7 separate regions of the Homo sapiens genome follow, and all the other regions are linked to region 1. Evidence: promoter capture Hi-C in human tissues and cell types (Jung and others, 2019). All regions are on one chromosome and are shown on one strand. Each heading gives the region's core, a stretch centred on a gene start or on the middle of the fragment in contact. The rest is flanking DNA. Distances are from core to core; before and after follow the strand shown.

The links. Contacts are between HindIII fragments. The study calls those that stand out against the background at their distance.
Region 2: a fragment that was not itself captured here is called in contact with the fragment with the promoter of POU3F2 in region 1 in 1 of the 25 tissues and cell types used here (dorsolateral prefrontal cortex).
Region 3: a fragment that was not itself captured here is called in contact with the fragment with the promoter of POU3F2 in region 1 in 1 of the 25 tissues and cell types used here (dorsolateral prefrontal cortex).
Region 4: a contact is called between a fragment that was not itself captured here and the fragment with the promoter of POU3F2 in region 1, in 1 of the 25 tissues and cell types used here (H1 embryonic stem cells).
Region 5: a contact is called between a fragment that was not itself captured here and the fragment with the promoter of POU3F2 in region 1, in 2 of the 25 tissues and cell types used here (dorsolateral prefrontal cortex and lymphoblastoid cells).
Region 6: a contact is called between a fragment that was not itself captured here and the fragment with the promoter of POU3F2 in region 1, in 3 of the 25 tissues and cell types used here (H1 embryonic stem cells, dorsolateral prefrontal cortex and heart left ventricle).
Region 7: a fragment that was not itself captured here is called in contact with the fragment with the promoter of POU3F2 in region 1 in 1 of the 25 tissues and cell types used here (dorsolateral prefrontal cortex).

Annotation. Positions count from the first base shown.
Region 1 is chr6:98,832,225-98,836,420 of GRCh38, reverse strand. It overlaps POU3F2 (POU class 3 homeobox 2), which reads right to left and starts at 1,847. Exons shown (of 1, transcript NM_005604.4): 1 at 1-1,847. The coding sequence starts at 1,547. The coding sequence ends at 216. RefSeq lists enhancers at 1-533, 534-1,130, 1,129-1,198 and a silencer at 1,837-1,906. The HindIII fragment of the contact is 21,173 bases long and covers 1-4,196 here.
Region 2 is chr6:97,425,374-97,429,569 of GRCh38, reverse strand. All of the region lies in intron 1 of LOC101927314 (a long non-coding RNA gene), which reads right to left. Among named protein-coding and RNA genes, the nearest start is that of MMS22L, 140 kb to the right of the region's middle. The HindIII fragment of the contact is 4,910 bases long and covers 1-4,196 here.
Region 3 is chr6:97,610,329-97,614,524 of GRCh38, reverse strand. It overlaps LOC101927314 (a long non-coding RNA gene), which reads right to left. Exons shown (of 5, transcript NR_110757.1): 2 at 2,186-2,357. Among named protein-coding and RNA genes, the nearest start is that of MMS22L, 330 kb to the right of the region's middle. The HindIII fragment of the contact is 4,357 bases long and covers 236-4,196 here.
Region 4 is chr6:97,631,533-97,635,728 of GRCh38, reverse strand. All of the region lies in intron 3 of LOC101927314 (a long non-coding RNA gene), which reads right to left. Among named protein-coding and RNA genes, the nearest start is that of MMS22L, 350 kb to the right of the region's middle. The HindIII fragment of the contact is 6,336 bases long and covers 1-4,196 here.
Region 5 is chr6:97,659,187-97,663,382 of GRCh38, reverse strand. The region is part of intron 3 of LOC101927314 (a long non-coding RNA gene); the gene reads right to left. Among named protein-coding and RNA genes, the nearest start is that of MIR2113, 360 kb to the left of the region's middle. The HindIII fragment of the contact is 6,000 bases long and covers 1-4,196 here.
Region 6 is chr6:97,718,504-97,722,699 of GRCh38, reverse strand. No RefSeq gene overlaps it. Among named protein-coding and RNA genes, the nearest start is that of MIR2113, 300 kb to the left of the region's middle. The HindIII fragment of the contact is 5,166 bases long and covers 1-4,196 here.
Region 7 is chr6:97,823,821-97,828,016 of GRCh38, reverse strand. No RefSeq gene overlaps it. Among named protein-coding and RNA genes, the nearest start is that of MIR2113, 200 kb to the left of the region's middle. The HindIII fragment of the contact is 4,404 bases long and covers 1-4,152 here.

The DNA.
Region 1 (4,196 bases), core at 598-3,097:
AAACACATCATTACACCTGCTACCTTTAAAGGATAGTCCAGTGTCTTAGTTGCTTTCCTTTTGCCTTATTTTTTTTGTCTTTTTAAGGGACGGGGAAATAATAATTAAAAATAAAAGAACAATCAGAAGTTAGAGAGGGAACAAGAGGGCCGGGAAAGGGCCAAGGACCGAAGGGGAGGGGGAGCCCCGCGCTCTGCCCCTCCCCCAGCTCGAGTTCACTGGACGGGCGTCTGCACCCCGTGGTGTGGTGGAGTGTCCCTACTCCCCCCGTACACATCCTCGGCGCCCGGCAGAGTCCCTCCGGGAGGGGTCATCCTTTTCTCTTTCTGTCTCCTGTTACAAAACCAAACTCTCACCACCTCCTTCTCCAGCTGTAAGCTGTCCGCGAGGGAGGTGATCTCCTGGGCCGAGGGCTTGGGGCATTTGAGGAAATGGCTCTCCAGAGCCCCCTTGACGCTCACCTCGATGGAGGTCCGCTTTTTCCGCTTGCGCCCTTGCGCTGCGATCTTGTCTATGCTCGTGGGGCTGCCCGAGGACGAGTCCGCCTCCTCCAACCACTTGTTCAACAAAGGCTTCAGCTTGCACATGTTCTTGAAGCTCAGCTGCAGGGCCTCAAACCTGCAGATGGTGGTCTGCGAGAACACGTTGCCATACAGGGTGCCCAGAGCCAGCCCCACGTCCGCTTGGGTAAATCCCAGTTTGATCCGCCGCTGCTTGAACTGCTTGGCGAACTGCTCCAGGTCGTCCGAGGTCGGCGTGTCCTCGTCCGAGTGCGGGTCGTGGTGCGCGCCTGGGTGGCCAGGCGGACCCTGCGGGGGCGGCGGGGGCGGCGGCTGCTGGTGTGGGTGCGAGTGCGGGTGCGGGTGGTGGTCGGCATGGTGTGGCTCGTCGTGCGCGTCCCGCAGGCCGTGGTGGTGCAGACCGGCCGGCTGCCCGCCGGCGCCCAGCATGCCGTTCACCGTGAAGCTGGGCTGCGAGTAGAGCAAGCCGCCGTTGGACGCTCCCATGGAGGGTGGGAGGTGCGCTGCAGCCGCCGCGCTCCGCCATGCCCCGGGTCCCGGGTGGTGGTTAGCGGCGTGGTGCACCAGATGCGGCGGCCGCTGTTGCTGCTGCTGCTGCTGCTGTTGCTGCTGTTGCTGCTGCTGTTGCTGTTGCTGCTGCTGATGCTGCTGCTGCAGGGCGCCTGGCCCGTGCAGCTCGTCTCCGCGGCCGCCCTGCTGCACCACCACCGAGGGCTTGATGTCCGGCTGGCCCAGGGGGCTGGTGGACCACGGGGAGCCGTCGCCGCCGCCCCCGCCGCCGCCCCCGCCCCCCCCGCCGCCGCCACCGCCCCCGCCGCCGCCGCCGTGGGACAGCGCGGTGATCCACTGGTGAGCGTGGCTGAGCGGGTGTCCGTTGCTCTGCAGAGCGCCGTAGTCGCCCTGCACCAGGCTCTGCGCTTCGCGGTAGCCCCCCGCGCCCTGCTGCATGCCGCCGGGCGGCTCGGCGTGCACGATGGAGGCGCTGGAGGTGAGCAGGCTGTAGTGGTTAGACGCTGCGGTCGCCATGACTCTCGGAGCCGGACTGAGCGCTCCGGTTAAAGGAGCCGCGCATTTGACAGTTACTTTTTCGCCTCGGGCTCCCTCTCCTCGCTCGCTCTTTCTGTCTCCTCTCTCTCCCACAGCGGGCAGCTCCGACGCCCGCTCCGACGCCTTCTGTTGCTGCTCCTGCTATTACTGCTGCTGCTGCCGCCGCCGCCGCCTCCCGCCCGCCCTCGCTCTCTTTCTCCTCCTCTCCCTCCTTCTCGCTCTCGCTCACTCTCTGACTAGCTCGGCGCTCCCCCCTCTCCCTGCTCTCTCCAGCTCTCTCCCGCTCTCTTGGCAGCGCCGGCTCGCAGCGGCACGCGCCTGGGCCCCGCCCCCTCCGCCCCCTCCCATTGGCTCCGCGCCCTTTGATTTACGTGGATACCGCTAGCAACCTCCCAGGCCGGCGCCACTGATTGGCGCAGAGCTACTCCCTCCCCCTCCCCCGGGCTCGGAGTCCTCCTAGCCCTCCTCCCCGTCCCCTTCGCCTCCCGATTCAGATTCTCTCAGTTCTCACCCCCCCGCTTCTTCCTCACCCGGGGCCTCCTCCGCCCTCTCTCGGATGGGCCCCGCCCCCCATCTGTCTCCCAGGCAGAGAAGACCGGCAGGGGGGCGGTCCCGGTGCTCTTATCGGCCACAGACACTTGGAAGACTTGGATTGGGGTGGGGGGCGGGAGGCAGTGGTGTCCACTTTCGTTTCCCAATAGGGCTTTAAGATGGGGAAACGGAGGGGGTAAGGGAAAAGCTGGGTCGCACCGAGCCAGCGGGAGTCGGATTTTTATTCACCTAGGGACACACACACAGTGTGTATCTCTTAAACCTAGAGCCAAGAGCCAGACCTGTTCCCCTGTTCAACTCTCCTTGCATCCCACGGTTAGAATTTCAGTGCACAAGTGTCTCTTGCTCCAGGGTGTGCGGACACTTCGGCCCAAAGCTCTTCTCCTTCCCCTCTACCCCGCGGCTAGCACAGGCTCTCTTCCTTTTAGGTTCCAGGCCCAATTGTCTCCCACTCCCTTGGGGAAAGAACCCCGAGAGAGGCAGGCTCAGCCCGCACCGCGGCTTGTAAGTCATTCCCATCAAGGCTCGGAGTTGCTTGCTCTGACAGCGTAGCGGTCTGAACTGAAAACCAAACAAAACTCTAAAAGTCTCTCCGTCAGATTCACACGCCGGCGCGTGCAGTTTTTGGTTTAGAAAACTAGAAGCCTGCGTGGGCTCCGTCTTGTGCGAGGCTGCCGGAGTGCTGGCGAGGGGTGTGCGGCCTTGTAGGGGCGGCGCAGTCGCCAAAGGCCGCTCCGGGAAGCCGCGCGGAGGGCCTGCGTGCGCGATTCCCCGTGCTCCTACCGCTGGTAGGTGCAACTTTTCCGTTAGCCCCTTGGGAAGGAGGAAGAGTGTGTGAAGCAAATGGGCTGATGCCAGGGGAACCTTCCTAATCAGTAACTTCGGTGGGCGCTAGCGGGTGGGGTTAGTCTATGTCTTTGGCGCTCCCTGGCCAAGCTCCCAGCTCAGCTTTCAGCAGTGAACTCCAGAGCAAGACTATGGGACCATGCACCCGCAGCGCCGCTCTACGGAGCGCGGGCGCGTCGCGCCATCAGTTCTTTAGCCGCCCAGAGCAGGTGCCGCCTGCGAGTTTCCGAGCCTGCAAGCCCGGTAGCTAGAACTTGGGCGCGGACCCAGGCTGGAGCGGCGTGACCGCCACGCAGGGCCGGGTGTGTACATGGGCGCTGTAAAGCGAATCAACAGTTACTGCCGGGAAGGGAATGACAGACCCCAGGGAACCTGGATCGCGTCCCCACCTCTCACCCCTCGCTCTATCGCTGGTTTTGCCGGCGGTCGTAGGCTTGAGAGGGCAGCCAAATCAACGCTCAGAGGGAGCATTTTGGGGCCTCTGAGCATCTGAATCCAGACAGCAGACTGGAGCGGGCCAGAAAATTCATCATGACTAACAAGGAGTCATGCTCTTTGGAGAGTGGCTGAGCTGTTTATAAATCACCACGTTGAGCACCCGCCCGGGCAAGACGCTTTGGCTGAGAATTTCCACGTGTCCTGTGTTTATGAGCGTGTGTGGGGGAGAGAAATGGATAGGGGAGGGGCGAGCCCACAGGCCGCCAGCAGGACGGACCTGCACCCCCACCACGCGCGCACCCGCGCGGCGAGGCGAGGCGAGGACACACACAGCGTGTCGCTCCGTCCCAGCGCAAGCGCGGGGCCACTCTGGCCGCGCGCCTGGGGGCTGCTAGGAATCCCATAACTTTGTCTAGCTAGGAAAAAATGAACAAGTCCGAGCCTCAGCGCGCAGACTCAGCGACTGGTGCCCGCGGCTCCGCAACCGCGAGCCAAGGGGCTGGGTGGCGGGCAGAACCGCCTTCTCCCGGCTTCGGCCCTGCGTCCCCTGTGCTAGGCGCGTGACTTTCCCTGGGCCTTGGGGAGCGCACAGACAGCCCGCCAGCCGCATCTTCTCCTGACATGTCGTGCCTTTCTTTTCGCGGACCTGGAGCTCAGAGCTCCCACGGACAGAAGAATCCAGCCCTGGGGAAGGGCCGCGTCCAAGTGCTAAGCAGCTCATACTTCTCCCCCACCTTTCTGGGGCAGGTGTCTGCTTTTCTCTGGATTTAATTTCACATTTCTCGAGGCACA
Region 2 (4,196 bases), core at 1,100-3,599, 1.4 Mb after region 1:
AAATCAATTTTATTTCTATATATTAGTATTGAACACATGGATAACAACATTTTTAAAAATAATGCCATTTACATCAATGCCAAAAAATGTAAACAGTTAGGAGTATATTTAAAACATGTACAGGATGTTCATGTTCTAAATCTTGGATGCATCAATATTAGTATCCTGGTTGTGATACACAACTTTGGTTTTGCAATATGTTACCATTGAGGAAAACTGGGTCAGATGTACATATAAACTCTCTGTATTATTTCTTACAGCTGTACATAAATCTACAATTATCTCAAATTAAAAGTTTTAATTTTTAAATGTTGGTATGTAGAAAGCTGGTGCTGCACATTTCTAGGCCGTCTTCTCTACACTCCCACTTATATTTCCAGATGAATAAAAACTTTAGTAACAGGAAAATCTGGGTTTGAGTCACAGTTCTTCCACTTACTTGTTTTAAGACTTGCCCTCATCTATAAAATAGGTACAGTGATAATAATAATAATGATAATGTCTGCCTAAGAGGGTTGTTTTTAGGATTAAATGAGATCAACATTTAATCCTAAAAATGCTAAATGTTAGCTTGACAGTAAACTTAAATGTAAAATTAAGAATATGCTTTGCACAGATTAAGCCTTCAATATGACAGCAATGATGATGTTAATTATGACTATCACACTTTGATAGGAATTCTCTCCATCTTATCATACTGATCTATGCTCTTAAGATCATTTTTCTGCCTTCTACTTCATGACACTATTTGCTTCCAATCATTTTTCTGGTCCACCCAACAAGACATCCACAAAAATACATCCAAAACTCCTAACGCATTTTTGCCTATCCTCCAGCCTGCTTTTATTCCTACATCCTCTATAGACATTAATATTCTCTCAGTTGCAAAATCCAGAATTATTGCAAAGATTGTAAATGACAGCTGCAGGTTTAATTCAACTGGAAGATTTGTTTTGACTGAGTCATACAGGATTGTTTTTCTGTTTCTAAATTATTTATTATCATTTAAAAATCAGCAGATTCTCCATAAAGATTCAAATTTAAAACTCCTTTTAAGAAATTAGAGTACAATTGCTTGAACCTGGGAGGCGGAGGTTGCAGTAAGCTGAGATTGCACCACTGCACTCCAGCTGAGTGACAAGGGCAAAACTCCGTCTCAAAAAAAGGAAAAGAAAAGAAAAGAAATTAGAGTACAATATCAGACAGTACATGGCTCATATTTCGATGGCAGAAACCCACTGGAGCCTCCGAGCAAGTGCACTCTTTAGACCAAGTATGTGCTCTATAATCCCCACAGTCTCCACCACTATCTAGTGACTTGCACATGTTCCCGACTCTAAATTACCTAACTGCTCCCTCTGTAATCATTTGAGTTTTCAACCAGCATAAGCCTGTCATCTTGGGCATCTTTATCAATAACTGTAACAAGCCAGTTACAGTTCCTTTCAATTTTCCACTCTGATTTTGGAGGATATATCCACTAACCTGATTCAGACCCCAAGTATCTCCTACGTGGACCACTGCAAGTGGTTCTCCTTGTTTCCAGTCTAGCCACCTATTTAATTAATTCCCTATGCTGCCTCCAGAGAGATTTTCTTCAAAACTCATAAAAAATGTGGTATGGTATGCTGGTGAGAACAAAAAACTCTGAAACTAGACAATCTGAGTTCTACTCTCACCTCTGCAACTTATTAGCTATGATTCTTGAACAACTTATTAACCTCACTGCTTGTTTCCTCAGCTATAAACTGGAGATAATAATTAACAGTCTATGTACATCATGGGATTCTTATGAGTATTAACTGAGTTAAAATATGTAAAGCACTTAAAATAGTGTCTGACATATAGCAAGAGCTATATGTTAACTGTTACTATTATCATCTCTCTCCCTTTTTCTTAAAATTGCTTCATGGCTTCCCACTCCCTGCTGACAGTTCTTGCCATTTATGATATGACCACAAACTGTGTATCTACTCTAATTTTCCATTTCTAGCTACACTGAATTACTTGCCATTTCTTGAAAATAAATCACCACTGTTAAACCTCCAGGCTTTTATATTTATTTTTCTCTTACTATGAGAAACACCATTCTCCATTTCCTTGGCTTGGAAAATTCAAGCTTTCTGCTTTGGAATCCAGGTCGAAGACACCACCTCTGTGAAGTCTTCCCTCTCAACTACACACTTAAGCAAAATTCCATCCACTGCATTCCAAAGACACTCTTTATATATGCTATTAGAGTACTTATAACATATATCATGGGTTTTTGGGTCTACATTCCAACTCTGTGGAGTTTTTATCTGTCTGACTTTTGACAAATAATTTGACTTCTCTGTGCTTCAGTTTCCTCATCTGAAAATGGAGATTACGATAGTACCTACCTCAAAGGTTTGTTGGGATTAAATAAAATAATATATGCAAAAGCCATGTCCAATATGTGAAACATAAAGCTTGACACACATTTTTACTATCATCATCATTATTATGAGTGTAATATTCAAATTAATAAGTCTGGCACTGAACATTTTCTAGGCCCTCCTCTCTAAGCTCCCTCTGTTATTTCTAGAGAAGTGTAGGCTTTGGTAATGAGAAAGCCAAAAGAATCCAAAAAGAATCACATGTTCTTAAAAGAAGGGAACTTTTCTAAAGCATCTTTTAGCACAGGACCTGGAAGTAGTAGGAGAGCCCTTAAATCTTTGTTAAGTGAGTAAGTATCCAGAGGAGAAAAGAAAAGGAAGGCCATTGCTGTGTATATCCTATATATATGCCTATATATGCCCTAAATATTGTATACTTAAATCATAAAAAATGTTTTTCCACTTCCTTCCCTGGAATCTTCTCTGGTATCTTATTTTTGGAAACCACAGACAGTATTATAATATTTTTATATAGAGGCAGTTATAAGCAGACTTTATCAACAAATGAATTGAGGTTTATATAATGGCTCTATCACTTCCTAGCTGCATGAACATGGATGAGACACACAACTCTCTGCACCTCAGTTGCTTGATTGTTACATGGAATTAATAATGCCTATTTTCAGGTTTACTGTGAGCATTAGATGGGAAAGCACGACAGCACCACGTATAGAGTCTGGCATATGGTATGGGATCAATAATTGGTAGCTATTAAGAGATTATCTTCGAGATCGCGCCACTGCACTCCAGCCTGGGCGACAGAGCGAGACTCCGTCTCAAAAAAAAAAAAAGAGATTATCTTCTTTTTGTATCATTTTTAAGTTTTCTAACAGACTTGGATTCTACAATTCCTACTTTTTAAAGGTAAAGGATCCACGATCTCTTAGAAGAGTCTTAAATATTCAGAGTTTAAATGCAGGCTGGTGAAAACGTAGGCCGGGGAGAGGAGTGCCTACAGAAGGGCACTGGAGGCAGAAAGATACGTGTGTTTAGGTATTTATGAACAATTTACTGTGCTAGAACATCAAACATAAGACAAGGATTGTGGAGATGGAAGGCTAGAGGTATAGACAAGGGCAGATAATGGAAAACCCTGGGTGCCATGTTAAAGAGCTTATTCTGTAGGTTAAGTAGATCTGTACGAAGGTAGCAGAGAATTGATATAATTATATTTTTGTTTTACATCTATACCCCTGATGTGGCATGTGATTCAAAGAAGAGATGGCTAGGGTCTCAGGGATCTATTAGGAGATTCTTCCAGCCAATATTCAAAATCAGAGAAAGAAAGACCTAAACTAGGGCAGAGACAGTGGAGATAGCAATAAGGAATAGTTTAAGAAATATTTGTCATGCAAAAATCAGCTGGATAAGTAACTGATTGGAGCAGGGGTGAGGGAATGGGAAGAGTGACAGAGCTTTATGGCTTTCTTGACTGGTTTTTGGTACCATCAATTGAATTAGAGACTGAATGAATTGTTTTAGGAAAGAGATGTTGATTTCAGCACTAAAAATGTCCAGTTTTAGGTAATTGAAAGCAACAGTGAAGCTGACCAGAAGGCTTTGGAACATATAGGGACAAAAATAGGTGTAGTTTTGGTTAATGAGAGAGTAGCATAATATTCCAAAGGGAAGAGCAGGTGCCAGGCAATGTCAGAGGCAAGTATCAACTCTACATTTGGAGAATTATATACCATCCATATGTATCTTGGAATTTTGTATCAATATCATTTTTATTATATTGTTGAAGACAATGATGTAGGGTGCTATGCAGTTTGCAAA
Region 3 (4,196 bases), core at 1,165-3,664, 1.2 Mb after region 1:
TCACATCAACAGAATGAAGGATAAAAACCATATAATCATTTCAATTAATGCTGTAAAAGCATTTGATAAAATTCAATACTGCTTCATGATAAAAACCCTCAAAAACCCATGATAGAAGGAACAAGCCTCAACATAATAAAAGCCTTATAGGACAGACCCACAGCTAGTATCATAGCAAAAGGGTAAAAACTGAAAGCCTCTCCTCTAAGGTCAAGAACATGAGAAGGATGCTCACTTTCACCACCGTTGTTCAACATAGTACAAGAAGTCCTAGCTGTAGCAATTAGACAAGAGAAAGAAATAAAGGGCATCCAAATTGGAAATGAAGAAATCAGATTATCTCTGTTTGCAGATGATGGAATCTTATATTTGGAAAAGCAAAGACTCCACAAAAAAACTATTAGAATGAATAAAATTCAGTAAAGTTGCAGAATACAAAATCAACATACAACAATCAGTAGCATTTCTATATGCCAATAGCTAACATTGTGAAAAAGACATCAAAAAGTAATTCCATTTATAATAGCGACAAATAAAATAAAATGCCTAGGAATTACTTAACCAAAGAAGTAAAAGATCTCTGGAATAAAAACTATAAAACACTAATGCAAGAAATTGAAGAAGACACCAACAAATGGAAAGATATTCCATCTTTAAAGATTAGAAGAATCAATAGTGTTAAAATGGCCACACTACCCAAAGCAATCTATAGATTTAATGTAATCTCTATCACAACACCAAAGACATTCTTCACAGAAATAGAAAAAACAGTCCTAAACTTTATATGGAACCACAAAAGACCTGAAATAGCCAAAGCTATTCTGAGCAAAAAGAACAAAACTGAGGGAATCACTTTACCTTACTTTAAATTATACTGTGGAGCTGTAGTAACCAAAACAGCAAGGAACCAACATAAATACAGACACATAGATCAGTGGAACAGAATAGAGAACCGACAGATAAAACCCAAACATTTACAGTAAACTCATTTTTGACAAAGGTGCCAAGAACACACATTGGGAAGAGAAACTGTCTCTTCAATAAATATTGCAGAGAAAACTGGATTTGAAGAAGAGTGAAACAAGACCCCTATTTCTTGCTTAAAATCACAATGGATGAAAGACTTAAATTTTAGACCTCAAACTATGAAACCACTAAAAGAGAACATTGGGAAAACCCTCCAGGACCTTGGTTTGGGCAAAGACTTCTTGGGTAATACTCCACAAGCACAGGCAACCAAAGCAAAAATGGACAAATGGCATCACATCAAGTTAAAAACCTTCTGCACAGCAAGGGAAACAATCAACAAAGTGAAGAGACAACCCACAGAATAAAAGAAAATATTTGCAAACTTCCCATCTGACACATGATTAATAACCAGAATATACAAGGAACTCAAACAATTCTATAGGAAAATATCTAACAATCCAATATTTTAAATGGGCAAAAAATCTGAATAGACATTTCTCACAAGAAGACATACAATGGCAAACAGATATATGAAAAGGTGCTCAAAATCATTGATCATCAGAGAAATACAAATCAAAACTACAATGAAATATCATCTCACCCCAGTTAAAATGGCTTATATGCAAAAATCCAGGCAATAACAAATGCTGGTGAAGATGTGGAGTAAAGGGAACCCTGGTACAATGTTAGTGGAAATGTAAATCAGTACAACCACTATGGAGAAGAGTTTGGAGGGTCCTCAAAAAAAATTTGAAATAGTTGATTTCCCCTGGTTGGCAAGATGGTCAAATAGGAACGGCTCTGGTCTGCAGTTCCCAGTGAGATCAATGCAGAAGGCAGGTGATTTCTGCATTTCCAACTGAGGTAACCAGCTCATCTCACTGGAACTGGTTAGACAGTGGGTGCAGCCAACGGACGGCAAGCCAAAGCAAGGTGGGGCATTGCCTCACTTTAGAAGTGCGAGGGGTCAGGGAACTCCCTTCCCTCACCAAGGGAAGCTGTGAGGGACCCTGCCCAGCCTGGATACTACAATTTTCCCACAGTCTTCGCAACTCGCAGACCAGGAGATTCCCTCAGGTACCTATGCCAACAGGGCCCTGGGTTTCAAGCACAAAACGGGGCGGCTGTTTGGGCAGACAGTGAGCTAGCTGCAGGAATTTTTCTTTCACACCCCAGTGGCACCTGGAACACCAGCAAGACAGAAACATTCACTCACCTGGAAGGGGGCTGAAGCCAGGGAGCCAAGTGGTCTAGCTCAGTGGATCCCACCCCTATGGAGCCCAGCAAGCTAAGATCCAATGCTTGAAATTCTTGCTTCCAGCACAGCAGTCTGAAGTCTGAAGAAAAATACTCATTTTATGATGCCAGCATCATCCTGATACCAAAACCTGGCAGAGACACAACAAAAAAAGAAAATTTCAGGCCAATATCCTTGATGAACATCAATGCGAAAATCCTCAATAAAATACTGGCAAACTGAAACCAGCAGCACATCAAAAAGCTTATCCACCACGATCAACTCAGCTTCATCTCTAGGATGCAAGGCTGGTTCAATGTGCACAATTAATAAACGTAATCCATCACATAAACGGAACCAGTGACAAAAACCACATGATTATCTCAATAGATGCAGAAAAGGCCTTCGATAAAATCCAACAACCCCTTCATGGTAAAAAAAACTCTCAATAAACTACACATTGATGGAACATATCTCAAAATAGTAAGACCTATTTATGACAAACCAACAGCCAATATCATACTGAATGGGCAAAAGTTGGAAGCATTCCCTTTGAAAACCAGCACAAGAAAAGGATGCCCTCTCTCACTGCTCCTATTCAACATAGTAGCTATACAGACCAATGGAAAAGAACATATGGATTTTGTTTTTAATCCTGTTTACATGGTGAATCACATTTATTGATTTACATATGTTGAACCAACCCTGTATCTTGGGAATGTAGCCTACCTAATCATGGTGAATTAAGTTTCTGTTGTGCTATTGAATTTGGTTTGCTAGTATTTTGTTGATGTCTCTCTCTTTTTGATTCAGTTTTGGTGCAGTGTATGTATCTAGAAATTTATTAATTCCTTTAGGTTATCTAATTTTTTGGCATATAATTATTCATAATAATCCCTTATGGGCCTTTTAAATTTCTGAAGCACCCACTGTTATGTTTCCTTTTCAGTTTTATTTGAGTCTTCTCTCTTTTTTTCTTAGTCTAGCTAAGAGTTTGTTGATTTTATCTTTAAAATCACATAACATAATGACCTCCAGTTCCAGCCATATTGTTGCAAATGACAGGATCTCATTATTTTCTGTCTGAGCAATACTCTATTGTGTATATCTATCACACTTTCTTTATCCAAGAGTCCTTTATGATAAAAAAAAAATTTTCAAGAAACTAGGCATTGAAGAAACATACCTCGAAATAATTAGTGCCATGTATGTAAAAGTAACAGTCATCAGTGAAGAATTTTTTATATAGTGAAACTAAACTTCATAAATGAAGGAAAAATACAGTCTTTTTCAGACAAACAAATGCTGAGAGAATTTGCCACTATTAAGCCAGCAACACAAGAACTGCTAAAAGGAGCTCTAAATCTTAAATCAAATCTTCAAAATACACCAAAATAGAATTTCTTTAAAGCATACATCTCACAGGACTTATAAAACAAAAACACAATGAAAAAAAGGTATTCAAGCAACAAAGAGCATGATGAATAGAATAGTACCTCACATCTCAATAGGAACATTGAATGTAAATTGCCTAAATGCTCCACTTAAAAGATACAGAATGGCAGAATGAGTAAGAATTCACCAACCAAGTATCTGCTGTCTTCAAGAGACTCGCCTAACAAGTAAGGGCACATGTAAAGTTAAAGGGGTAGAAAAAGATATCCATAAAAATGGACACAAAAGCGAGCAGGAGTCACTATTTTCATATCAGACAAAACAAACTTTAGAGCAACAGCAATTTAAAAAGACAAAGAGAGGCATTTTATAATGATAAAATAACTTGTCCAACAGGAAAATATCACAATCCTAAATATATATGCACCTAACACTGGAACTCCCAAAATTATAAAACAAATACTACTAGACCCAAGAAATGAGACAGAGAGCAACATGATAATAATGGAGGACTTCAATAGTGACAGTACGAGACAGGTCAAGACAGAAAGTGAACAAAGAAACAACGAATTTAAATTATACCATATAACAAATG
Region 4 (4,196 bases), core at 1,120-3,619, 1.2 Mb after region 1:
GTAAATTTCAAAATCATGTGACTTTTACCTTTTACTTTGCACAACAAATAAACTTGAAAATCTAGATGAAATGACTAATTCTAAAGAAAAATATTTTTACCAAATTGATCTCAGTAGGAACTGAAAGTGTAAACAAATCAATTTCCACAGCAGAAATAGAGAAAATTAGTAAAGTATTACCCCACATACAGATCACCAAGTCCAGATGTTTTCAAAGGGCAATTTCTGGAAATCTCCAAGGATGAAAATAGAAGTCCAATGATATTAAATAATTCCAGAGCATAAGGGGAAAAATAAAAACTTCCAAATTCTGTTGTGTTTCTTGGGAGAGTACACAAAACCTTGATACCTAAACCTAGTAATTATAGCTTTAAGAAATTAAAATAACATTTATTAATATTTCTTCAAAATTGTAATTAAAATATTAGCAAACAGAGTCCAATAGTTTATACAAAAAAAATACATCATGGTCAAATGGTATTTATTCCAGGAATGCAAGGGCAACTTAATATTTGGAAATCCATCAGTGCATCAATGTACTTCACCATATTAGTAAATATAAGAAAAAAACCACATGATTGATTCCATAAACGTTGAAAACTTAAAAGAAGATTCAACACATTTCAGCACCCATTTTAAATAAAATAGATGTGTGTATGTGTGTGTTGTGTGTATCCTAAAGCCAGTATCTGACCTATTTGACTTAATAGGAAACACTAAAGACACTCCCTTTATGGGCAGGAAAAAGGCAAAATGTTCACTGTCTCCAATTATAATCCTGCATTTGAGATATTAATCAATGAAATTAGATATGAGGAAATAGAGACATAAGAACATAAAAGAAGTATAAAGCATCCTATTTGAAGATGACAAGATAGTATACATAAAAAACTCGAGGATTTAATGACTAAACTGAAACCAAAAATAAAATTTAAAACAGTAGAAAGAGAAATACTATACACAAATTAATGTACTCCATATATACAAATTATTAATTAGAAGATACAATGTAAGAGAAATGCTATTTTTCATGGCCACCAAAAAAAATGAAGTACTTAGAAGTAAACCTAACAAGTGATGTTAAAAAGGTTTTTAAAGAAAACTTTAAAATACTCCGAATGAAAAGTGAACTTAAAGGGAAAACTATCTGTTCTTAGATGGTCTGAGTCAACACCACGAAGATGGCAATTCTCACCATGTTAATCTAGAAACAACATGACTCCATAAAAATACAAAGAACAATATGTTTGAAGCTAGATAAGTTGATTTTAAAATTTTAAGGAAAATAATTACGGTAGAAAAACTAGAATAATCCTCAAAAGCAGCAGTAGAGTGCCTAGCCAAACAAATACTAAGATATAATCAAGGCGCGGTGTTACAGGAGTATAAACAGAATCAATGAGAAAGCCCAGTACGTATGTAAATTTTATATATATTATATATATATGTGTGTGTGTGTGTGTGTGTGTGTGTATGTATATATATGTGCATATATGTATATATGTGTATATATGTGTATATGTGTGTATATGTGTGTGTATATATACACACGTGTGTACATATGTATGTACATATGTGTATATATATATACACACATGTGTACGTGTGTGTGTGTGTGTATATATATACATACACATATATATACACCATTTCCAATCACTCCTTTTGGGGAAATGTGATATCAGATCTGTACCTCAAATATACAAAAATAAACTAAAAATAGATCAGATATCTAAATATAAAAAATGAAATCATATATATACTAGAACAGGACATAGATTAATTCCTTTTTAACCTTGATATGGGGAAAGCCTTTCTACCACAAAATCCAGATACAATAAAAGATAAATTAAACTACATAAAATATTTTAAAATAACCTTTTGCAGGAAAAAAACACTATGAGCAAAATCAAAACAAAAATGACAAAATGTGAGAAAATATTTGCAACATATATTGCAGATAAAAGGTTAATATTCCAAAAATATAAAGAAATCTGAAAAATGAGAGAGACATGAACATATGTTCCACAGAAAAAAAAACATATACAAACAGTCTTAAAATACATGTAAGATGCTTCCAGTCACTTAATTTATAAAAACGTAAATTAAAACTCCACTGACTGACCATTTCTTCCTTATCAAGTTGACAGAAATCCAAAGCTTCACCATACACCCTGCTAGTGAGGTTGTGAAGAAACACATCCTCATACGTTGTTGGTCAGAACATCACATTATACCATCCTGTGGAGGGGAATTTAGCAAAAGTTAGCAAAACAAAACCTATCCTTTGATCCAGCAGTTCCACTTCTAAAAATTTAATCTGAGGATATATCTCTACAACTACAAAACGTATGTATAAGTGTTTAAGTGTATTCATTGAAACATTAATTATAATAGCAAAATATTGAAAACAACTTAAATTCCCTGCAGTAGCAAGCAATAGATTTTTATACATTACCGAATATCCAAAAATGGGTACTTTGTAGCTATACAAAACACTAAAGAAGTTGCCAGTAAACTGCTAAGGAGTGATTCCCAGGATATATTGTTAAATGTAAAAATATATATTATAACCTACTGTGTAAGAATGAGGAGAATGAAGACACACATTAAGCATGTTTATTTGTGTATGTATTGCTTAATACATTTGTGTATATATTTGTGAAAATAGACACACTCAGAAAAAAACCAGAAACTAATGAAAATTGTTACCTAAAGATGAAAAGTGGGAAAAAAGTATAAGAGAAAGGAAAAAGAATCAAACTTTTCTGATTCATCCATATATAATATATATATATATAGCATTTGATATGTAAGCATATCACTTCTTTATGTAAATTTAGAAATTAAATCAAGAATCCAAAAAAAATCACTAAAATTGAACAGAAACAGAAACAAATTTAGCTATAGCAAATTTATAACATACGTGTCCGTACACACACACACACACACACACACACAATTTCAGAAATTTTTGAACACAGTACTGTGATTATTAACCCCTAGTAGAATACATTTTAAAGACAAAAAGAACTTTAAAAAACTTTAAGTTTACTTAGCAAGTTTGCTGTTGGTAGTGGTATCGGTGTAGTAATTCTGAAAATATTTTGTGGGTGCTGTAAAATACACTAAATGAATAAATATATTGGTGTTGACAGTCAGGATCTTCACTGTGGAAAAAGTAAGATTCCAACATAGGAAGTGTGGAAGAACTCTGCAATGCAGCTTTCAGTATAAGAGATAGTGTGAAAGAACTCTGCAATGCAGCTTTCAGTATAAGAGATACATATACTGCATTGACTGACTGAATAAGCACATGATGAACCTGAATCTTGGTTTCTAAATACAATTCCCCACTATAAGGAACCAGAGCTCTTTGGAGAAATGGTTGATTCCAGCTCTTAGGCATGGAAAGTGCAAGGTAGGTTTGTAACATATTGCTGAGACAGAAAGCAAAGAAAATGCTCAAAGATTGATAAGGCTATATCAAACGACACGAGGTCAACTTGAAGGGGCTTCTACTTCACATATTTGGGATAATTTGAGCAATCAAAAAAATAATGATGGCAATGGATGATAACACATCAAATATTTTAAAAATTCCTAACTCCATAATGATATTTTAAAAAATAAAAGAGATGGGGAAGAGAAAGTTCTTCCTTGAAGAAAGTCTATTAGTAAATATAAAACAAAAGATATAAATTAAAAAATTTTTATTTTGCAAGCACTAATGCTAAGATTATCATGAATGTTAAAAAATATTAAATCAATTTTTTGAGAGCAAGATTTGTATACAGTCTTAAAGCGTTAACCACAGTTATCTATCAACTGAGAAAAAAGTTTACCTTTTACAATGAAAGAATCTCAGAGATATCAGTTTAATCAAATAAACAATAAAGCATGACCAATAATGGTATAAGTCAATATTATTAATGTGATACACTGAGAAGGACACAAGATCATCTGTTTATTATTCTTGACAAAAAGTATTTCAACTGATTCTAAAAATCCAGAAATAATCAGTGGGACATTGTGAAAAAAATAAAAAAAACACTGGCCTAGACTTTTCAAAATTTCAAATTCATGAGACAAGAGAGGGACTATTCTATATTAAAGACAAGACAACTAAGGGTATTGAATAATCCTTGATTGAATCATCAGTTGAAAAGTGAAACAACTATAAGAAATGTGAATTT
Region 5 (4,196 bases), core at 793-3,292, 1.2 Mb after region 1:
ACAGAGATGTGCTCCCTGAAGCTGCCAGTGTGCCCCCATGGGGTCACACTTTTTTCTTGATATTTTCCTGAGTTTGTATGCCTAGGATGGTGCTCTTGCACAGAGGGGTAACCTTTTATATTCTTCCAGCTAGAGAGAGAGAGAGATAAAACATTTTATTTTAATTTGCACACAGGTACAGCATAAACTGCTGGGAGCTCTGGGCTGAAGAATGCCACAGAGAAAATCATGGTAGATTGTTACTTCCAAAGGAAAGACCAAGTGGAAAGAATTTCCTTAAAGTGGATCCTCCTCCTTTAGAGAATTTATGAATTAGCTATGAGGCAAATTTGTGAAAAGCTAAGGATTTCCCAGAACTCTGGAGTTAAAATGGTTCTGTGTCTGAAAATATTTCTAAGTGAAATGATACAATTCTACTTTAAATGTACGGGAAAGACCCCAGATATCACAAGCTGTGGGTATGGTAAGAATAAAGAGCATGTTAGAGCTTCCCAGAGAGAGAGGTAAGAAATCTTTTTTTTTTAATGTGTTTCTCCTACACTATCTGTAAGTTCTATGATGGCAGGTAGTATTAGTGTTGGCCCCTAAAAACCTTTGAACTAGCCGTGCTCAGCACTTGCACAGTGCTTACTATTATCCAGGTAGTGTCCTAAGCACTTTATATGTAATACATAATTTAATACAATAATCCTATAAAGTAAGTACTATTTTGATTCCTAATTTCTGAATAAGGAACTTAATCAACTTGATCGTAAATCATGCATGTAGGGCTGAGATTTGAACCCAAGCAATCTAGCTTAGCCTCAGAGTCTGCCCTCTTAACCACTTCTATAGTATCCTAAATAAATATTTTTATGAATAAATACATGAATTGCATAATGTGGCCAATTCAGAGAACTGTTACGCAGTCTTAATTATATTGGATTTCACATTATTTTTGGTCTCTGGGAAAATTTTAGTTTAGCACCCGAGACTTCAGAAATTGTGCTGCCTGAGTTGCAGTACCTTAAAATGCAGACAATGAGAAAGTTATAGTAAAATGTCTCCAAGTGTTACAATGAGAAAATATAAGTAGACACAGGAGCACACACTTAAAATGTCTAATCTAGTCTGGGCGGATGGGGATACCAGGAAAACTTTCAGAGGAAAGGAATAGCACAACTGAAATGGGATCTAAAGGTAGATCAAGACAAAAAGGAAGGAAGGGTGTTCTTGGCAGAGATAATTCCATGTATGACAAGCAAGTGGATAAAAAATAGGGGAGTGTACCTGAGGAACAGAAAAATAAATTGTTCAGTATATTTTTACCCTAGAATGTGTGAGAGAGAAGGGAAAAGATGAAGCTTACAAAGAATGGGGAACAGATCTCAGAAGGCCTGGGAAACCTTAACGAATTTAGACTTTGGGAATAGCAAGTCAGTGATGGATTATATGCAGGCAGATCAAAGAAGCAATATGAAAAGACTTGAGTTTGATTACTGTGGCTGATGTGTGGAGAGCAGATTGGAGGGTGGCAAGGCTGTGGTCTGGGAGTCAGTTTAAAAGGCTGTTCAAGCAATTTAGGAAAGAAGATAAGTTTCACACAGTGTGTGTTTGAGATGTCTGAAAGACAATCAAGTGAAGATGTCCAGAAATACATTGTATTTCTAGAAATGGAACTCAGCAGAGAGGTCTGAAATAGAGAAACTAACATAAGTCCTCGGTCTGAAGTTGTACCTCAGTGCTGAAGAGTGGATGAGAATCCCCAAGAGTGTGGAGTGAGAAGAGTCCCCAAGCCAGAATCCTGAAGAACATCAACATTTAAAGCCTGGGCAAAGGAAAAGAAGACTGAGAGAGGGAGAAAAAATACCAGGAGGTTGTATGTTTTCAAAGCCAGCACATGCATACCGATGTAACAAACCTGCACATTGTGCACATGTACCCTAAAACTTAAAGTATAATAATAATAAAATAAAATAAAATAAAAGGCAAAAAAATGTGGTAATGTAGATCAAAATCCATTCACAGGCAACTAATATGAAGGTTAAAAATATTCATTGGAATTAGCCCCACGGAAGTGCTGTGTGACCTCAGTGAAACGAGATTCTCATTTGGGTCCTGAGCACAGAAATAAAAGACTAAGTACAAAGGGAAAATGTAGACACCTTTTTCCAAAATTGTGGCTTTTAGGAGAAAGAAACTAAGCAATAGCTGGAGAGGGGAGTTCATGAAGAAACTGTTGATTTTAAGATAGCAGGAATGTGAGTGTATCTGAGAACTCACGGGAAGGAGTTGGTGGAGAAAGGTTGAAGGTAAAGGAAACAGAAAGGACAACCCCTATTGCAAAAGCCCTGAGAAGGCAGAAAAAGAAGGAATTCAGGGCCCAAGTCAAGAGCTTGGCCCAGAAAGGAGAGGAGACATTTATTCAGTTGTAAAGGAAGAAAGGAGGAAATAAGAATGAGAATGCAGATAAGTATGTAGGTAGAACTGTCAGAATAATAAGGGATTTTTAATCTGATGGATATAATTTTCTTCATGAATTCAGTTTATTTTAGTGCATTTGTACTTACTAATATTTTCTTTGTACTTATTGGTAAATTGAGTTGACCCTTCTACATATATATATATATTTATAAATATTTACCTGCACTTCTATCTATCTTAGATAAGGTATCTTTAAAATATTTACCTACACTTCTCTCTCTCTCTCTCCCTCTCTCTCTTTCTATCTTAGATAGGTCAAATAGAGACAGAGAGAGAGAGAGAGAGAGAGAGAGAGAGAGAAGTGTAGGTAAATACTTTAAAAATAGCATATAGCCTAACAGCCTATATTACTTGTATTATAATACTTTACAATAGGAAATCAATAAATACATGATGATTGATTTTTGAAAACATCTCATTTTACACTTATGCTAACAATAGGGCAAAAATGTGTCAACTGTTTTAATGTATTCTTCTGTGTTTACCACATGCAACAATAAAAATGCAAAATAAAACTTGGGGGCTAAGAATATTATTCCAATATTTCTATTTCTTGGGTGGCAGTGAAAAAGAGGGCTACAAATTAGGTTGCCTATCATATAAAAAATAACAAATTTTGGTTTTCGTTCTATGTAAATTTCATGTATTGAAATAAAAAGGAATTATCTAATGACATCTATGAAAGTATGCCCAATTAATCAATTCCTTGTTTATGTTTATGCCTTACAAATAAAATACATCTTTGCCATTTCAGCTACTAGCACACTCTCAATTGGATACTATATTAATAGCTTACACCTGAGTGCAATAATCATGAGAGTATTTGGCAAAGGTTTAAATCAAGCTGGTCCAACCTGTGGCCTGCAGGCCACATGCGGCCCAGCATAGCTTTGAATACAGTCCGACACAAATTTGTAAACTTTCTTAAAATCTTATGAGTTTTTTTGTGATTTTTTTTAGCTCATCAGCTATTGTTAATATTAGTATATTTTATGTGTGGCCCACGACAATTCTTCTTCTTCTAATGTGGCCCAGGGAAGCCAAAAGATTGGACAGCCCTGGTTTAAATAAGCCTATATTTGCTAGTGGAAAATTCTGAGAAAATAATTTGACACTGAATCCCACTTACTCTTTTTCATTAAAAAAAATACAGTATAATAGTCCAACAGTTAAACATCTATATCATCAAATGTTTTAAAACAATACTTTGGGGGGGAAAAAGTAATTAAGGCAAAGCTGGGCACCTGGGCTCTGACAACTCCTCTGACAATGCCAGTTGTAAAGCCTAAAGTCACATGTTTCTTACCTAATTTGAGTTTTGCACACAAAATTTGAATTAGACAATTTTCATTCAAATCCCTGTCCCCTTTCTCCCTATAACCTATTTGAACTTCAAACCTTCCTTTCAACTTTTGCATTTCGTAAGGAAGTTCAATTCTCTGTCAAGAATAAAATATTTTCTTTCTTATACAATTCATTATAGATGATGGAAGTCATTTCATTAGTTCTCTTGTAGATGGCAGGTCTGTGTCTCAATTCAAGTAGGTTGAATTTGCCAGTCTCAAAAGACCTTTAATTGGTCTTTGGGGTATCACTCTACCTCCTTTTACTTATATGTGACTTGCTGTCAAAAAATTCTGAGTGTTTAAGCTATATTTGTTTAAGTTAAAATTATCTACACAATATTTCAATAAACTAGTTGGAGACTTATTACCAGTGCAGAAAAAAAAAAA
Region 6 (4,196 bases), core at 952-3,451, 1.1 Mb after region 1:
GAGTGTTTATTAAGGAGTCCTCTTGAGAGCAACACTTGTAGAAGGGAGAAGAAGGAAGAAGGATTGGGGAGAATAATTCAAGCTCTAATTCAGTCTTGTCCAACTCCATGGGGATTTCCAGATAAATGTCTCCGTAGATAGCTAAAAAGGCCCTGCAGAATTATCTTGCATTCGACCAAAGTAACCAGGCATTTGTACTTGCATCGATCCATAAAGGGAGTGACCATGAGACAGGCAGCTCTCTGTAGCCGAGGCAATCCCTGAAATATATGAGAGCTGGAGAGTACCTTACAATGGTATCCAATTCTGTATAGTGTTTTCTTCTATCTAGTTCCAGCCTACAAAGTATAGCCAATATGAGCTTCTAAATAATGATGATGTCTCCTTCATAAATGTATTATACACTAGATTCTTCTAAGAAAGTTAATCAGCAAGCAGGTCTTCAAGATTTATACAATAAATCCTTTCTAGAATGCCCACTTTGCTGAGCCTTTGGTCATTTCCACCAGTCTGTCACAGTAATCTAGCATCTCTACTATATTAAATGTAAGCCATTGCTTTTCAAGCTTCCAAGATACTCCCAAGGAGTGTCTTAGAACTACTGTTGGTTGTTAAATTTTGTATCACAGGAGGGTCCCCCTATATTAGCATACTCTCCCTTATTTAACTTTATATTCTACCCCACAATCCTTATCCAACACCTTTAGAATCCACTCTCAAGAATGCTTTCTTAGTTACTGCTGTACTTGTTAGCTATTCTTGCAACTCTGAGCATATAATCCATCCCCTCCTTTAGGAAGCTCCACATTTTTTCAACTGTGTTAGGCTAAGATAGTGATCCTAGTTGCTGTTTATGTGACCAAGAAGGGAGTAGGAGGCAGATCCAGAAGTACTTAGTAACATCCTGTAAAGCATCTGCCTGCCTCATGTGAGTTTTCTCACAGTCTTCAACCAAGAGGTGGCAGAGGCATTATCTTTCAACAAGGGGGACCACTGTACAAACCCAAAAGTTCCAGGGGAATCTGGGAGTCCAAGGATTACATGTACAGCAGATCCTCAAATAACATTGTTTCATTCGATGTCATTGTATTGTAACATTGATAAGAAAAGCAATCCATTCTGGCATTCTGGCCAGAGCCACTGTTTGTGTAGTTTGTACACTGTCTCCATGTCTGCATGGATTTCCTCTAGATACTCCAATTTCCTCCAACAACCCAAAGATGTACACATGAGGTGAAGTGGAATGTCCACGTTGTCGCAGTCTGAGTGTGCATGGGTGTATGTGTGAGTATGCCCTGCAATGATGGGATGGAGCCCTGTCCAGGGCTGGTTCTTACTTCTGCCCTCAACTGCCATCATAGGCTCCTAACACACTTGACCCTGAACTGGAACAAGTGGGTTGGAAAATAAATGAATGAATGGAACACAAATTACTATCAAATAAAAATTCTTCAAGTCTATGATAATCACACAAATGCACAACAATAAATGATGCAGGGAGAAAGTGCCCATTGAGCCCACAATATTTATTTGCATTTGAACTGTGTGCTGGCAAGAGGTGCTCTTACAATTTTTGCTTTGCAAACATTTATTCCTTCATTTAACCCACCTGCACCATGATCACCATCACTCACTGATTCACCAAAAAAAAATGGGTAAAGAATTATCTTATGTGTTTTTATTAATCTTTCTTAAGTGTGTGTACTGCTCACACTTAAGTCAGTGTTTAATATTAGGAGTGTTTGGGGTCTTTATTTAGAAGTTTGGTGATTTTTTTTTGACCAGAAATATTCCATAGGAACTTAACTCTTGTTTATATAAATTAGTCTATGGTAAATTTTGTTTCATTATGTGTCATTTTATTCAAAATCACCATTTCCAAAAAAATATCAATAACATTAAGTGAAGATTTACTCTATATATACCCAGATAACCCTATCCCAAGTTTCAGTGCCCTTTTCTTTACTTTTCAGGACTCTGAGTTTGGCATATAAGACTTTCCATGGCTGGGAATTATGCTTTCTCTTTAGTTCTGTGACTTTTATAATTAAGTCCTATGCCTGTTCTTCAGTTCATCTGCCCTCCAGCTGTAGGAACTGAAGGTCTGTTTACAAGCTGCCAAAGAGGCCCTCTGACTTTCATACTTGGCTTTAAATTGGTGATTGATTGCCCTGAGCCTGTTATTTCATCTCTTTGAAACATCAATGGCATTCAGAAATAGCCTCTGAATTCCACAGACCTTCAAATTTATATTTCTCTTGTACCTCTCCAACACCAGAGATTTTGCACAAACCAGTGCATCTTCTTCTGCCCATATCCCATCCAAGTTGACCTCAGTGATAACCTTAGCAATTGCACTGTGGCTGCATGTCAGAAGCTACCACCAGTGATAAGTCATTGGTATAAGCCAGCTCTCAAGTTTCTAACTTCAGGATGCCATTCTTGAGGTCTGCTTTCTAAGACCACTTTTGATAGAATTTTAAGCCAGTTTCCCTAGAAACAAAGCCTGATCCAGGGTTTTTAGAGCTTTATTGAGGAAGATGTTTTCAGGAGTGCCTCTAAGAGTGAGCATAAAGCAGGATAGGGAAGAAGAAAGAGGTGATCAAGAATGTGGTCTCGGGTAAAGTGTAGTCTTGGGCTGATCCATTTGTATTGTAGGGAGTCTGAAATATAAATCCCACTGGAGTGTTGTTCCCTTTTGAGGCAAGAAAGCTAGACTTCTATAGCCCTGTATATTCCAGGCATTGTTTACATACCATTCCTGAAGGAGGAAAGAAGTGTCACAGCCTCCTTGGCTAGTTTGCTCCTAATAGCTAAGGGCAATTTTTAGGGCGCAGTGGGTGGAGAGATGAGGAGTTAGGAGGTGGGTGGATGGGAGCTCTGATACATTTGCAAACAGCATTGCCAGCAGCTGAGGAATAAGTGCAACAACCCAGGAAGGGGGACCTAGGCAAGACACCACAGCTTCTACTGAGCTCGAACAATCACTGACCCTAGCATCAGGAAAATCATTTAATTGGTGATCCCAGATAGTTTTTTAAAAACAGATTCATCCAGAATCTGTTTGGGCATAGAAAAATGGTAGATATACAAATGTCCACATAACCAAAGATCTATGAAGCAGCTCCATACTATAACATGGAAGAATCAGAATATCTGTACAGAGGAATTCATCAGATGATATCAAACTTGGGACTAGAAGTTGACCCCACATGACATTCTGCTGGAGAGGACATGTAGGACAAATTCATTCGCCTGCCAGCACAACTCTCTTCTCTCATTCAAGAATGGCTGCCAGCCAGCAGCAACTGAAATTCTATCCAAACACAGAGAAAGAACTTTTAAGGTAACAAAATCAGAAAGTCAAGCTCTTAAAAAAATTGATTATAATATTTGTTTCATCCAAGAAGACAGTTAAAAAAAGGTTCTTTTGAAAACATCAATAAATCGTTAGTATCTAAAAGAGCAAAGGACCTTATTACAACATCACAATCCTATCCACAGGGTAATTCAATTACTGAGTCTGTTCTACACCAAGCGAAGTCAAGAGAGCATGTTCCCAAAATATTATTACCTTTTCTTTATACACATTTGCATCTCTGTCTAGTGTTCCAGTCCTTACACCAACCCAGGAGTTTGGTGGTTCTTTGGCATGATTAAAATGTGAAACACCTCCATCAGCAACATCCCATGATGCCAGCCCATGTTTAACAAGGATATTAAATATTTTCATCTTCTTCCTCCCCATTAAACCTTAAAGGGTCAACATTCCATTTCAATAATGATTGAGTCTACACATCCCTGTAAAATATCACTGACATGATGAAAAAATTAAAAAGCAAATTTAAAAATGAAAAAATACAAAAACAACTTTTAAAAAATACTTGGTATTGCTAAAATACAGAAGCTGTCAATGGTCAAGAAACATTAATTTTTCTTTTCTGGAAGTTGTGAAGGAGAATGACTTAGATTAAAAGAAAAACTGATTGTTGTTGACTGGCCTGTTATTCAACATTAACAAAGGAGAAGAACTTACAAACTGAGTAGTTAGGTTTCCCCAACAGAACTCAGAAAATCCCCAAGGTCTACACAGTACGACATAAAGCAAAGACAGTTCCTAGAGGAGGCTGTCTCCCAGAAGGGTGGCCCATTGTTTATTTTTACTTCATCTGATGCACAGTTTGTATGAAGCTTGT
Region 7 (4,196 bases), core at 701-3,200, 1.0 Mb after region 1:
AATGTTATGGACTTATTGAAGGTAAATCTCTGGGGAAATTCAATGCAATTTTACATTTGTGTATAATGTAAGGTACAACAAAGGTTTATCTCTAGCATAATGGCTAGCATCAGAATGTTCTTAATCACTATAATTTATAAGAAAAAATGAACATATTATATGAAAGCTGAAAACCAAAGGAATATTCTAGTAAACATTCAACCAATAAGGAAATTCAATATTGCTGCAAGGGAAGCTAAGAAAGGGCTTTTATTTTAAGGCCCTATTCAGTTAATTAAAGACTTTACTATATATATATTGGAAAAATCATGTGATTTCTATCCCCAAATTTCCATGAATGCAGTGGTGACATAAACAACTGTGAACTTCCTATAAAGAAACAAATAAAGTAGCAAATTCAATGATCATCTGAGTATCTGCTGACATTCTCATTAGAATTCTTAAACGCAGGTGGCTCATGCCTGTAATCTCAGCACTTTGGGAGGCGGAGGCTGGCGGATCACGAGGTCAGAAGATCGAGACCATCCTGGCTAACACGGTGAAACTCCGTCTCTACAAAAAATACAAAAAATTAGCCAGGCGTGGTAGCGGACGCCTGTAGTCCCAGCTACTCGGGAGGCTGAGGCAGGAGAATGGCGTGAACCTGGGAGGCGGAGCTTGCTGTTAGCCGAGATCGCGCCACTGCACTCCAGCCTGGGCAACAAAGCGAGACTCCGTCTCAAAAAAAAAAAAAAAAAAAAAAAAAAAAGAATTCTTAAAAGCAGACACCATGCACATGTTGTGGGCCACCAGGTTAGTTCATACTTAATAGCAGTATATTGACTGTCACCAAACAGACCGCATTCTACACCATAATCCAGCTAAAGCATTGCACCATTTCCCCAAATTCTTAGGTTTTTTTGTTTTTGTTTTTGTTTTCCCCTCATGGATCTTATGCTGACAAATTTAAACTAGAATGTTTTTAAATGCATCTATTTGACCTTAAATTATGATTCCAAACACTATCAAGCTTTTTGTTCTAACTCAGATGTGGTAATTAAAAAATAATTACAATGCTACTATCTAATAAAATGAAATTTTCATCCAGTCTGCTGTTACATTTCATTTGAATCATTACAAACAATCATTTCATTTCCAGATCATGTTATTAAGAAATAGGTTGTTTGGTTCTTATCAGTCTCTTATTTTCTTCGAGAAATTAGGTATTTCCCCTGTTTTACCATCAATCTCTAAAGTGATAAAGTTTATTTCTAATTATTTAGATTTGGGTGCAGAATCTCATATAAATCGGGTTCAAACTTATTTGATGTAGGGAAAACAGTGAAAAAGTTCTCAGAAGCACGAACTGACGCTTGGGTATAGTTGTTACGGACTACAAAACACAGATGCTGTTTTACCCTCTTTTCCCCAAACCAGTCTATGTTTACGTTGAATCACTTCCTAGAGCTTGAGAAATCTTGTTTAGCTTTGTGTGTTAAATAGTTTTCCAGCTCAATGTCATCAATTTTTACGCCCAAACAAGTATGTGTCTCCTTCTTGAGGTTTGGTGGCATATATTGCCAAATCAATTACATTCAGAATCATGCATCCAGTCCTAATTTAGATAGATTTGAAATTTTATTTAAAGGTCTTTTATCCATGCTACTAGGAACACCGAATATGTGATCTGCCAGATGGCTTCACCTGCAGTCTCACTTCACACATGTAAAAGGGCTTGCCTGGTATAGAAAGTCCCCAAACAAGTAAACACAAGCATCTTTCTGAATATAAATAAAATTATCTTATATAAAAATAATCCTTTCAATTGAGATACTTGTATGTTCCTAAATTTTTGCCTGTATGAAGTTCAACGCACTCCACAATTTATTTGCCACCCTTCCCAGTTAAAACTATTAGTACACAAACAATAGAACTGGTCAGAATCTTATAGGGAAGTTTAATATGGTCTCTGTCTTCAAGAGAATAATAATAAATATACAATGTAATCTAATTTTGACATCCTTTCAAGTGTTCTGGGAATATAGTGATTTACATATGCTGTTAGGCCTGGAGGTTTTCAGGAAAGGATTCCCTGGAATAGGTGATGTTCTAGCTGAATCTTATGAGTTTAATTTGGCCAGGAAAAGGTGAAGAAAGCATCTAGTCAGAGAGAAGATCCCCAAGACAGGTATGCAGGATGGTCAGGAAACAACAACCAGATTTTTATGCCAGAATATAAGGCATGAGACATATTAGTGGGACCTGAGTCTGGAGACTGGATACAAGTGCCAGGTAAGGCCATTCTAAGAGGTTCAAAATGTACCATAGATCAAAAGGAGTCAACAAAGGGGTTTAAAAGGGAAATAGATGGGTTAGGTTTTAGGTCTGCATTTTTGAATTATTGCTTTAACTGCAATCATTGCCACAGGTTGACTAAGGAAGAAAAATGAGAGGTATGATCTCTCAGGGGGGAGGAGTTTCTCCTAATGAGATCTGCCTCCTCACATGCAGAGACCCTTGAATCTGTGAGTTCCTTGTGCACATCTAATTCTGGACTTGCATTCTACAGCTACTTTTTCCCTCCCCTTCATGAGTTAAGCCTCATGTACCATTCTCTTCCCTATACCCTGATTTAACTTCCTTAATTCTACTATTCTCTAAGACTCCAGTCAACTCCTATCAACTTCCTTCTCCTGGAGAAGAGAAATAAAAAGAAGCAAATAAATTGCATTCTTCAATGAAACAGGCTGCAAATGCATAATATTAATCATATGTTTACATATTTCACATACCAAACTATTCTAAAACCAAACAGCTACAGTGTGGCTCTATGTAATTAGTTTCCTTATATTTTATGTTTATCCAGTGATATATCCATTTTATGATAAAAATAATTTTCGTAGATACATATACAACACCAGCCAATGACATAAAGAATACAAGTAAAAGTTATATTCCAGGAAAAAATCAAATGATTAATTCCTAAGTGTTCAAGTAGAACATTAAAAGAGAAACAAATAGTACCATACACATAGGTATGTGTGTGTACATATATACACAACTATGGGAATAATTATTTTTCTATTTTAAGATATGTTGTTGAGCTTACTTGGTTGCTAGAAAATCTTTGTAAAAAGCACCCTGAAATAGCACCATGGAGACTTAAGACAAAAAAAAAAAAATTCCACTACTATATAGCTTTCCGTGTGGAAACCATAATGCTCTTGATAAAGACCATCATGTATTGGGACATATATGCTGTTTTCTACTATTTCTTTGATTAGCCCTCATTCTTGCTCTTCAGGGTTTCTATCATAATACAAGAAAATAAAATTTTAAGCCCAGAAGGATTTTTACAGTAATGCAAGCTATTGATCGGTGCATTTTTTTCAACCAAAGCTTACTATTGCGTCCAGATTCCTTACAGTTCCCATATGCCCAGCGGGTTAATATTAGGTAAGGTACAAGCTGTTAGAAAACTACTAGTACATTTTTTTTTCCACTCAGTGTTGCTACATATTTGAAGCTCCTATGGGGAAATAATGAAAACTTTATTTCTTTGTTTTATCCAAACCTCAGAGTTCAGATATGCTTTGAGTGAAAAAGGTCAGTCATAAAGTACTCATTCAAACCATGATTTTCCATTGTTGGTTAATGCTAAGTTTTTTGTTTGTTTGTTATTTTTTATTTTTATTTTTCATAATTTCAAGGTAGTTTTTCAGCCACATCCCCTGCCCTGCCTAACCCCTCTAGTAGTCCCAAGCATCTCCTCTTCCTATTTTTATGTCCATGTGTACTTGGTTGAAACATTTATTTTCAGGGTCATGATCATGCTTGTTGTCTCACACAGAATGACATCCTAAATAGCGACCTCCCCCACCACAGAAGACTAGGGGTAAACTATAGACATTGTTATGGTCTTCTCTAACTTAGCATCTTATCTTTCCACAATCTGCCCCTTCCAGTCTCTGCTTGAACCTTCTTCTTCTGACTTCTGGTCTCAGGTCCTTTGGCTATTACAGCTAGATGCATCCTATGCCTAATCTCTAGAGACTGGCCTTCATTCAAAGGCAACTTTAGGAAAAGCTTAAGCTTCAGGGGCCCTCCTTTGCACAGACCCCTTCCATGGCCCTGAGTGGGACCTAGCAATTTGCCCACAAAGTCTTTCTTTATAGTTATGTTGAAAATGTTACAATTTTTATGTTTGTTTGTTTGTT